Regions from separate parts of the Homo sapiens genome. Here all the other regions are linked to region 2. The links are contacts of gene promoters, found by promoter capture Hi-C in blood cells and fetal thymus (Javierre and others, 2016). All regions are on one chromosome and are shown on one strand. The core of a region is centred on a gene start or on the middle of the fragment in contact, and the rest is flanking DNA. Distances in the headings are between cores, read along the strand shown.

Evidence for each region. Contacts are between HindIII fragments. The CHiCAGO score rates a contact against its expected background, and 5 or more counts as called.
Region 1: a fragment that was not itself captured here is called in contact with the fragment with the promoter of ARHGAP17 in region 2 in 1 of 17 cell types (total CD8 T cells); the score reaches 5.9 in total CD8 T cells.
Region 3: a fragment that was not itself captured here is called in contact with the fragment with the promoter of ARHGAP17 in region 2 in 1 of 17 cell types (activated CD4 T cells); the score reaches 5.2 in activated CD4 T cells.

Annotation. Positions count from the first base shown.
Region 1 is chr16:24,530,232-24,534,123 of GRCh38, forward strand. No RefSeq gene overlaps it. Among named protein-coding and RNA genes, the nearest start is that of RBBP6, 7.4 kb to the right of the region's middle. The HindIII fragment of the contact is 607 bases long and covers 1,230-1,836 here.
Region 2 is chr16:25,013,315-25,016,897 of GRCh38, forward strand. It overlaps ARHGAP17 (Rho GTPase activating protein 17), which reads right to left and starts at 2,055. Exons shown (of 20, transcript NM_001006634.3): 1 at 1,895-2,055. The coding sequence starts at 1,947. It also overlaps the pseudogene LOC100421171. RefSeq lists enhancers at 943-1,611, 1,612-2,280 and silencers at 1,594-1,643, 1,704-1,753, 1,814-1,863, 1,944-2,193. The HindIII fragment of the contact is 8,408 bases long and covers 1-3,583 here.
Region 3 is chr16:24,547,917-24,551,898 of GRCh38, forward strand. It overlaps RBBP6 (RB binding protein 6, ubiquitin ligase), which reads left to right. Exons shown (of 18, transcript NM_006910.5): 3 at 1,029-1,065. Among named protein-coding and RNA genes, the nearest start is that of RBBP6, 10 kb to the left of the region's middle. The HindIII fragment of the contact is 522 bases long and covers 1,972-2,493 here.

The DNA of each region.
Region 1 (3,892 bases), core at 283-2,782, 480 kb before region 2:
TACTTGCTGAACATTCTTTAAAAGGCTGCTGAGAAGGCAAAACAAAAAGCAGTCAACTATAATATTGTAAAAATCTTCTAAAAACTAAAATCATCCCATGTGATTAAACCATCATAAAATATAGTAAAAAAAAAAAAAACAAACTTTTGGTAAATGTTGTAAGTTCAGCTAGTCATTTATCAAACTGGAATGGCTGAAAAATATTTAGAAAAAGGGTCAATAAACTTTTTCTGTAAAGGGCTAAGTAGGAAATATTTCACATTTCATGAACTATTATTCTTCTTTGCTTTTTTTTTTTTAACCCCTTTAAATTTTTAAGAAATGCCGGGAGTGGTGGCTCAATCCCAGCACTTTGGGAGATTGAAGTTGGGAGATTGCTTGAGCCTAGCAGTTCAAGACCAACCTAGGCAATATAGCAAGACTCCTGTTGCTACAAAAAATACAAAAAAAAAAAATTAGCCAGCCATGTTGGCACACAGCTGTAGTCCCAGCTACTAGGGAGGCTAAGACAAGAGAATTGCTTGAGCCGAGTAGTTTGAATTTACAGTGAGCTATGGTTGAACCACTGCACTCTACCCTGGATGACAGAGAGAAACTCTCACAAAAAAAAGCAAAAAACAAAAAAAAACCATTAAACTCGAAAATCGGTGCTATTGGAAGAATAGTACGGGTTACTTTTGGGAGAAATGATTTTCAGTGAATTATTATACTTTATTATTATTATTATTATTTGGGACAGAGTCTCGCTCTGTGGCCCAGGCTGGAGTGCAGTGGCGTGATCTTGGCTCACTGCAACCTCTGCCTCCAGGGTTCAAGCAATTCTCATTCTTCAGACTCCCAAGTAGCTGGAATTACAGGTGTGCACGAGCATGCCTGGCTAATTTTTGTATTTTTAGTAGAAACAGGTTTTGTCATGTTGCCCAGGCTGGACTTGAACTCCTGGCCTCAAGTGATCCACCTGCCTCAGCCTCCCAAAGTGCTGGGATTGCAGGCATGAGCCACCATACCCAGCTGAATTATTATACTTTTAATCCAAAAAACACAGTTGACTATTTGGAGAAAAAAAAATGTTAATCCATGAGAAAACAGAAGACTTATGAAATGACAGGTGCTGAGACATTTGGATATCCATATGTGGAAAGTAAAATGAAACAGAACCCGCAGTTCATGCCATAAACAAAACTGAACTCAGCTAGACAAAAGAATTAAATATGAATGGTAAACTTAAAAGCTTTTAGAATAGACTAAATGCACTGCCTATAAAGGAACATCTTTCAAATTTGACATTATACTTAAACATTTCTATTCATCAAAGTATATCTAAACTAACAACTAAAAAATTAAAAAGGAATGATGGACTTAGAAAAATCACTATTTTGCAACTGCCGTAGTAATCATTGTTCAGGTAGGACTCTTCAATGAATGCTAGACTAATGAGTGAAAAGTTGATGAGGAACAAGGTCTTCAAATAGTCTCAAAGTATCTCCCCACAAATTACTTATTAATTACAAAGGGGTAATATCTGTAGAGTGGATAAAACCAGCAAAACAACCTTATTTAAAAATCAAAAATAGGTTGGGTGTGGTGGCTCATGCCTCATGCAAATGTAATGATCTAATTGCAATTCGTGGTCCAGAATTGGATCAAAGGCCAGAAAAAAAAGAGATAAATTACATTAGTGGGTGGCAAAATTCAAATCTGAACTGTGGATTGGATAATAGTTCTGTATCAATGTTACATCTCTGAATTTTGGTAAATGTAATGTAGTAAATAAATAAGTAATGTAATAAATAAATGTAATGTGTGAGAGAAAATGTCTTTGTTCTCAAAATCCCAAGCTTTGAGAGGCCTAGGCAGGAGGATTGCATGAGTCTAAGAGTTTGAGGTTACAGTGAACTACAATTGTACCAGCCTGGGCAACAAAAGGAGACTCTGTCTCTGAAAAGAAAAAAATAAATAAAAATAACATCATCAATAATAAGTAGCCATCACGGACTCCCTGCTGCAATGATTCCCTGAGTAGGACACATCAATTCTGTGGTTTTTCTGCCAGGTATTCAAACCCTAAATCCAACTATGAGGAAACATTAAACCAAATCAAGAGACATAAATATACATGAATTATCCCGTACTCTTCAAAAATATCAAAAGACTACCGAGTGCAGTGGCTCATGCCTGTAATCCCAACACTGTGGGAGGCTGAAAAGGGAGGATTGCTTGAAGCCAAGGGTTCAAGACCAGTCTGGGCAACACAGCGAGACTCTTTGTCTCTACAAAGAAATTAAAAATTAGCCAGGCGTGGTGGCACATGCCTTAGTCCCAGCTACTCGGGAGGCTAAGGAAGAAGGATCACTTGAGCCAGGGAGTTTGAGGCTGCAGTGGTCATGCCACTGCACTCCAGCCTCAGTGACAGAGCAAGCCCCTGTCTCAGGAAAAAAAAAAAAAAATTCAGAAGACAGAGGCTAACAAAATGTTTCAGACTAAGGGAGATTTGAGAGACATGGCAATTAATTGCAATGTGTGATCCAGGAATGGCTCAAAGACCAGGAAAAAAAAAAGAGATAAATTACATTAGTGGGTGGCAAAATTCGAATCGGAACTGTGGATTGGGTAATAGTTCTGTATCAATGTTACACCTCTGGATTTTGATAAGTGTAATGTGTAAGATAAATGCCTTTGTTCTCAAGAAATATACATGGATTTTTTTAGGGATAAAGAGGCGTCGTGTCTGCAAAATCCTTTCAGAGAGATCCAGATATACCTATATGAAGAAGAGCAGGGGACAAATGGTTAACTAAAAAAAAAAATGGGGCCAGGCACGGTGGCTCACGCCTATAATCCCAACACTTTGGGAGGCCAAGGGGTGGGGGGAGGGCAGATCACTTGAGGTTAGGAGTTTGAGACCAGCCTGGTCAACATGGCAAAATCTCTTTTCTACTAAAAATACAAAAAATTAGCTGGACATGGTGGCTCATACCTGTAGTCCCAGCTGCTTGGAAGGCTGAGACATGAGAAATCGCTTGAACCTGGGAGTCGGAGGTTGCAGTGAACCGAGATGGCGCCTTTGCACTCCAGCCTAGGTGACAGAGTGAGTCTCCGTCTCAAAAACAAACAAAAAAAGGACTGGGACAAGACGGGGCACGGTGGCTCATGGCTGTAAACCCAGCACTTTTGGAGGCTGATGGGGGAGGATCACTTGAGCCCAGGAGTTTGAAACCAGCCTGGGCTGCATAGTGAGATCCCATCTCTACAAAAAAAAAAAAAAAAAAAAAAAAAAAAATTACCTGGGTGTGGTGGCTGGAGCCTGTAGTCCCAGCTACTCGAGAGGCTGAAGTGGGAGGATTGCTTGAGCCCAGGAGGTCAAGACTGCACTGAGCTATGATAGTGCCATTGCACTCCAGCTGGGGTGACAGAGCAAGATTTTGCCTCTAAAAAAAAAAAAAAAGGAAAAAAAAACCAAAATGGGAAAAAAAGGTAAACAATTGCTGAATCTGAGTAAAGGGTACATAGAGGTTTCTTATGTTCTTGCTGCTTATCCATAAGTGTGAACTACTCCAATCTGAAAAGGCTGTATGACTTCATCTATGATTCCAACTATATGACATTCTAGAAAAGGCAAAACTATGGAGACAGTAAAGAAATCAATGATTGCTTGGGGTCTGGGGTGGAAGGGAGGGTTGGGGAAACAGTAGCATAGGAGAGCCAGGGTAACACCTTATTTATTTATTTATTTATTTATTGAGACAGAGTTTCACCCTTGTCACCCAGGCTGGAGTGCAATGGCACGATCCCAGCTCACTGCAACTTCTGCCTCCCAGATTCAAGTGATTCTCCTGCTTCAGCCTCCTGAGTAGCTGGGATTACAGGTCCATACCACCATGCCCAGCTAATT
Region 2 (3,583 bases), core at 805-3,304:
ATGGCCGGAATTTTAAAATGTGAAGGTGCCAGGCAAGGTGGCTCACGCTTGTAGTCCCAGAACTTTGGGAGGCCAAGGCAGGCAGATCAGTTGAGGCCAGGAGTTCGAGACCACCCTAGGCAACATGGCAAATCCCCACTCTACAAAAAATACAAAAATTAGCGGATGTGGTGGTGCCCACCTGTAGTTCCAACCACATAGGTGGCTGAGGCGAGAGGGTCGCTTGAGCCCAGGGAAGTCAAGGCTGCAATGAGACAAGATCGCACCACTGCACCCCAGCTTGGGTGACAAAGGGAGACCCTGTCTCAAAAAAAAAAAAAAGTGTGAAGGGAGAAGCCTCTAAGATGACCCAGGAGTCAAAGAGACCCTAAATAGCTTGGTAGATTTAAGTCTCAGAACTTTGTATAAAAAGAGTGAAAGTCCCTTACCTGTCACGAACAATGTAAAAACAAGCCAAACGACTATTTGACAAATGTATCTTGGCACTTACTAAATACTAGTTCCACAATGCACGTTGCTCAGAACACTAACAAGGGTACGAAACTCACAAGAAATTATCATGTGCTTGTAAACTGTTCCTTGAAACATCAGCCGCCATTACCACACGTCTACCTTCCTCTCAGCATTATTTCTTTAATTTTCCTGCAAATAACAGAAAAGTAGGTTTGTCTGGGCTTTAGGGGCAGCGATTAACCCTGAAAATAAGAGTTAATTCTCACCACAATAATACGGTAGGGAATCGAAAAAATTAAACAAGGAAACTAAGCAAAAAGATGGAGGAAATGAAACAGTAAAAAGCAAATTTAGAAAACTCGAGAGGAAGTAAAAGTATTTTCATACACTCAAAAAAAAGAAGTGTCCCACGTGCTTCAGCCAAACCAAACTCCCCTTAACTGTTAAAAACAGAAAATCAAAAGAAGAGCTGTGAGAAATTCATACTTTCGTATCTCTTTGCTGAATAAACACTAAATCGGTACAGTACAGCCAGCTGCCCTGAAAGACCTTGAAATATTAGCCCCAGATAATACAGCACATGACAGTCACCTCCAGAAACTCTCAAAAACCACAAATCATTTCTTGTTCTGACAACCTGATCTACCAACTCTGGTCTAGCCTGCCATTTAATAATCAATAACGTTTCTTGTTAAGCACTTCAACCGTAGCAAAGGAAGATAAAGAAGCATTTGTTTCCAAACCTAAGGTGAGACTTTTTAAATTGGCGCAAGGCGTCTCCATAATCCTTTTCCGCCAATTCCTAATTTCTAAATGTCAAGAACTGGCAGCAGCAGTCCAGTTCCTAGGAGCCCTGGTTTTGAGACAGCACCACCTCCGAATTCCCTCAAAGGGCGTTCTGAACTCACTGAGCAAATCCGGCTGGCTTTCATGTCCCTCTAGCCATTTCTTGCCGCCATGCACTTACAGGAGAAGGACTCGCAAACAGCGGGAGCACCGGGAAAGCCTGGGACTGCCGCCCCCCACAGCACAGCGCTCGGCACAGCGTTAGGGACAGAAGTCACCGTTGTTGAGCCCAGGGCAGCGATCCCAGCTGGCTCGGCCCCCGGGAAGGGAGGAGAAGGACCGGGTCTACTCCCCGAGGGCGATGCTCCCGGGGCAGGGACAATGGGCAGGGGACCCCGCGGTGTGGCGGAGGAGGCGGCGGCCCTCCCCTGCAGGTCTCGGGAGCCCGGCGGCGCTGAGAGACAGGCGGGCCGCCTGGAGCGCGGCGCTCGGGCCTCAGCGCGGCGCAGCCCCCGGGCCCGTGCCCCGCTGGTCTCGGGCAGGGGCTGCGGCCCAGCTCAGAGCCGCCGGACCGCGGAGGAGCCGTCCCGCCCCCGCGCCCTCCGCCCTCCGCCCCCAGCCCCGGTGCGACCCCCGTGCTGCCCGGCGCACTCGCCTGCCCACGGTCTGGTTAGCCAGCTGCTTCATGCGGTTGAACTGCTTCTTCATGGCGGCGGTGGCGGCGGCGGCCCGCGGGGCTCGGGCCGGGCAGGGCGGGGGACAGCCTGGCAGCTACTACATCGCTTCCCGGCCCAAACGGCGGCGCGGCGGTGGCTCCCCGGGCCGGCGGCCCCGCCCTCGCCTCGTCACTTCCAGTGGCACCGCCCGCCCGCCCTCTAGGTCTGGCCGAGCCGAGCTGAGCCCGAGTAGAGCCGAGTCGAACCGAGCCGAGGCTAACAGTGCCTTACCTGACACGGGCGAAGAGCTAGAAGGCCCCGGGCGAGAAGACCACTAGGCCTCCTCCGCCTGGCCTCCCCGACCCCAACGCTGCCCGGTCACCCTCTCGTTTATTTCAACGTATGAAAAGCTGTTTCTAGCAGGGCGCAGTGGTTCAACGTTGTAATCTCAGCACTTTGGGAGGCCGAGGGGGCAGATCACTTGAGCTCGGGAGTTCGAGAGCAGCCTGGCCAACACGGTGAAATCCTGTCTCTACTAACAATACAAATTTAGCTGGGCGTGGTGGTGGACGCCTGTAATCCCAGCTACTCAGGAGGCTGAAGCAGGAGAACGGCTTTTACCCGAAAGGCAGAGGTTGCAGTGAGCCGAGATGGCGCCACTGCACTCCAGCCTGGGCAACAGAGTGAGAGACCCTGTCTCGAAAAAAAAAAAAAAAAAAAAAATTAAAGTCAATGTGTGTTTTCCTTAACACACGTGCTCACACACTCATGTCTTCCTGGTTTGGTGGCCTTGGCTCCAGGTAAGCCCCTTCTTTGCATTGGATGGGCAGCAATGTGGCTTCTTTCATCAGCCACATCTCAAATGTGCTCCTAAATGTCATAGAAAAAGGAAAGAGCTCCCTAACTATGGGATAAAGGAGACTGATGCCAGTTTGGAATTCTTAATATCAAAGAATGAGGGACTTCAAGATCTTTTTAGTGACCTAGGAGAGACCTAGGAAGCATCAGAGCTTCAGATAGGGCAGCAAACTAAAAGTTATCGACATCAATTACAACAGAAAGAGGTAGAAATGAGCCTTCCTAAAACAAGAAAGCAAGCACTACAGGATCGGTTGCAGGACCGGCAGCCAGCCCTGGAGTCAGCACATTCAGGGAAGGCCGGAGGTTCCCATCCACACTGCATCCCCTCCATTCCATGTGGTACCCATCATGCTTCAGTGTTCCACGACGCTTACATGGGTTTTTATGACATAATTTCATCATAACAAGAAATAAACAGATAGTCCAATGAAGTTCTAAAACTTGAGTCTCCAGTTGGCCATTGGAAATGTATTGCTCAGACTTATAAAATAGGAGGAACAACTAGTTTTGATGAAAATGAAATCTACAAACTACAAACACCAAATATTAATATCATCAAGGAGCTCAAACAAAAAAGAAGTCAGGATACTGATGACCATCAGCTTGAATTATCAGTATTACAGAATGTTCATCAACAGAAATTGAGGGAAATAAGTTGTAAGCATCAAGAAAATCTAAGCAATTAGGAAGAAAAGATTGAAGAACTGGAAAATTTGTTACAGCAAGGTGGCTCAGGAATTACAGTACATGATCTCTCTAAACTTCAAGAGAAGGAAAACACTATTCATGCAAGCTCTACAAATTGAAAAAGTAGAGTCTACCAAAAA
Region 3 (3,982 bases), core at 983-3,482, 470 kb before region 2:
CTCTTACACAGAATTATATGTTAATGTACAATATATAGGGTTCTGTTTGTAATAAATTTGCCTCATAAAATGCATCTCAGTTTTTTTTTGAGCAAATACTAGAAAATCAAAGCTCAGTTTTTTTTTTATCTCAAATTCCAAATTATACACACACCTAGAAACTCCTGTTAGATGCTAACATTTCTCTATAGTCAAGATACCTTAAACTTTAAGCATTAAAAGGCTATAATCTAGCAACTCAACTTCTTCCCCTTTCCTGTGTGGATTAAAATAATTTCTTTTGGGGTTTATGTCTTTTAAACATCAAATTGTCCAGTTCTACACAGCCATTTAAGTCAGTTCTTTTAACTAAAATACTCTGATTATATTGTGTTTTTCTGGGAGTGAGAATTTTTGTTCAGTTTTTTTTTTTTTTCTGTTTTTAAGAGATGGGGTCACTATGTTACAGCCCAGGTTAGTCTCAAACTCCTGGGCTCAAGTGATCCTCTCACCTTGGCCTCTTGTTCAATCCTTGATTGTTGTTTTGAGACATTTGAAAAATGAAAATAGCTATCAGCCTGGCCCTCCAGATTTGAAAATTAGTTTTGGGAGCACAGCAATTTCTCAGGGATTCAAATTACAAATGTTAACAACAGCAGTCTTCCTGATGTGTGAAAATTTACGCATTCAGAAACTGGGAAATTATATAATTTAAAATTTTCAGTTTATTAAGAATAAACTACGTTTCTAAACATAAAATCCCTATACTACCTTTCAGAAAACATTTGTTTTAAGTGGCAGGGTACACCTATTTTTGAATTCCCTAGTATGGAATTTTTTTCCAAACCACAAATCTATCTTAAAACTGCTCAAAGGTGGTAAAGATTAATCAGAGTAATTTATTCATTCAGAAATTGGCTGTTAAATATTTATACCAAAGGAAAATTAGGTTCCTAAAAATGTATTATTGAAGATAATGTGTTAAAATTTATTAGCACAAAAATTCATAAATAGCTAATGTTAATTTTTGTTTTTATTTTGTGTTTTAGAAGTCGAACTGAACCAGCGATGGCAACTACAAAAGCAGTATGTAAAAACACAATCTCACACTTTTTCTACACATTGCTTTTACCTTTATAATGTAGCAGTGAAGTAAATCATTTTAGAACTTAATATCCAACTGATCATAGTACATATTGTAAATAAAATGTATTTTGATGACAGCTCAGTTGAATATGGATAATATGTGGCATCACTTGCACACTTATTTTGTAGAAATGGGTAATTTGTGCCCGTAACACTGTTTCATATTAAATATGATAGCATTATCCCTGTATGACACTGTGTTGTACAGTTAATGTATGATCCTTTTTAGATCGTTTAGGTTTTACACTAAGGAACATGATGACATGTTCTACATTTGTCTGTCTATAGTTAGTATTTTGTATGTATGTACAGGCTGTTGTGTGCTTTTTGTTTCTTGCAATAAAAAATGTTTGGAGTGTATATTTTGCCATTTTCACGTTGTATCACTTAGTTTTTGTTAGTTTTTTTTTTCCTGCCTGATTTATGGCTTCCAAAAACGCATTAGCAACATGCAAAGCTTATATTAAAGTTTGATGCTTTCTCCAAGTTCAAACACATCATAGAAAAGAGCTTTCCAGAGACCATTGATGCAGCTTTATTATTTAGTCTTGCTTTATTTGGCATTTTGAGCTCCTTCTTTTGTTTACATCTGTACTATAAAGTGAAACCTGAACCTGGGGCCCCCTATGAATATATAAGTGTCTTAGTGATTTTGAGTTTATATAAACTGATTATATTGTTTTCAAAGTTTAATGAGATCTTCCACTTCTATCTAGTTAGTGCAGATGTCCAAATTAAAATATTTCCCTCTTATACTAAAATGCTGCGTTAATTTTAGGCCATTGAAAGCTGTACCTTATCAGAGGTAACTCCCCTTAACCAGGATAACTGGTTTGAAGAAAGTTAAGCTTAATTTTTGTAATCACAGATTAACTTAATTTGTGATACCATTTTAACTTTGAGCTCTTAAGTAAAAAGTAGCAGCATTCCTAAGTTGTGGGGTGAAGCATCTGTTTCATAACACAGGTCTATCATAATTGGGTTCTGTAAATGTAATGGTTCTCTAAACATTTTAATGCCCAGGCTTGATATTGTACACAATGCAAGATGTCTAAAATCTTCATTTAGAATTCAAGGGTATTGCTTGCTATTTCACATTATATACTTTTTAAATACTATTGCTCTTTGTATATGAGGCATTTCACTAACCTTGGATCATTGGATCTTAAACATGATAATATAGAATATCTGAACATTGGACTTGTTCTTTAGAGTATATGGCCTTTAGTTCTTGTGGAACTAAATACAGTGATTCTAAGATCAAAAGTCTTAGTGTTTGGGGTTTTTTTTTCCTCTTTTTGGATATGGGGTGTTTTTTTTTGTTTTTTTGTTTTTTTTTTTTAAGCATAATGCTGTAAAAACTGTCCAAGCTTATGTTTTGCTGGTGATTGGTTTAAAACTGATTTTTATGTATCCAAATGCTAGCATAAATTAGATTGACTATCCTGGTGACTGTAGTAGTTAATGTAACACATTTTGTATAAAGTACAGTTTATATAGTATTTAAACTAATTCAGATGAAGTTTTATTTCTTGAAAACAGTTATTTCCTTTTTGTTTATTAGCATGTGTATAAACACAAATCACATGTTCATAAATAAAGTTAACATTCTTTTAGCCTTGTGTGTTCCGGCATGTCTGTATTACATTTATAAGAAGCAGTTTATTTAAGCTTATTTAGGTTTCTCTTTTCTTTTCTTTTTTTTTTAATACTTTAAAATTGGCTTTAATTTTTAGGTAGAATTATCTGAAATAGAGATATTAGATAACCTTGTTGTCCCCATCATTTATTTGCTTGGGGTACATTTGCTGGCATTTAAGATGAGAATATATTCATCAAGCATAATTAGTGCCCATCTTAGGAGATTTAGAGTCACGTGGATTGTACACATTCACAAAAGCAAAGTAAATAGAGGCGCTAAGCCAAATTTTTCTTATCCTGATTAGTAAAGTAAATGTATAGTTTTGGTAATGGAAGCGAACTCTAATCAAGAATGGATGGCTGTTTCCATATTCCCCAGTCTTGTTTTTAGTCATCCATCCATGTTGATACCCCAAAGCTGGATGTTCTTCTTGCTAACTAAATATCAGAGTGGTATTTTATAGGATTCTTTAACTTCAAAAAGCTAATATAATTGGCATAAAAGATTTTAGATCCTTGCTTCCCAAAACAAGACCCCTAATTAGGTACAGGGAGGTGGGTTAATTTTAATGTCTACGGTCTGCATCAGTCCGTTTTGTGAGGACTTTAAGTGGCAGACTTTTTTTTACCATTAGTATCTTACCAAGAGTCACTATTTTTATTGATGTTTAGTAATACAAATTCCTAATCATTTTTAAACCATTCTTTGTCAACATTTTTTGCTCATTTCTGAACACCTTGCTATATGTAGGAAACATTTGTTTGCTTTTCTAAATTTGAGGTAAATTTGACTTCTTTGTGGACTATAAGATATTTAGGGGCAATAGTGATTACTTGGTGGTAAAAAGGTGATTTAGGTGCAGTTGCATATCTAAAACCACTTCAAAGTCAATAAATACATAATACTAATAAGTTAGCAGAAAGCTTAAAAGCACACAAAAGCCCAGCATAAAAACAAAAAGGATACTATATCTTAAGTGTTAGGAGTGGGAAGATTTTTTTTTTATTCTTAAGTTTTTTAGTTCCAGTGGTAAGAAAGTTAATATAATTGTTTTCTTTCCAAGGAAATCATCAGTATTTATATTCTATTCTAGATAGTAATGGGCTATTTTTAAAGACTATTTGTTTTATTGGTTAGAATGTAGTATAGATGATGGTTGACAGCAATTTGTCTAGTCCTTGTTACTTAAAATCAAGTAACTTCTGGTTGGTATAA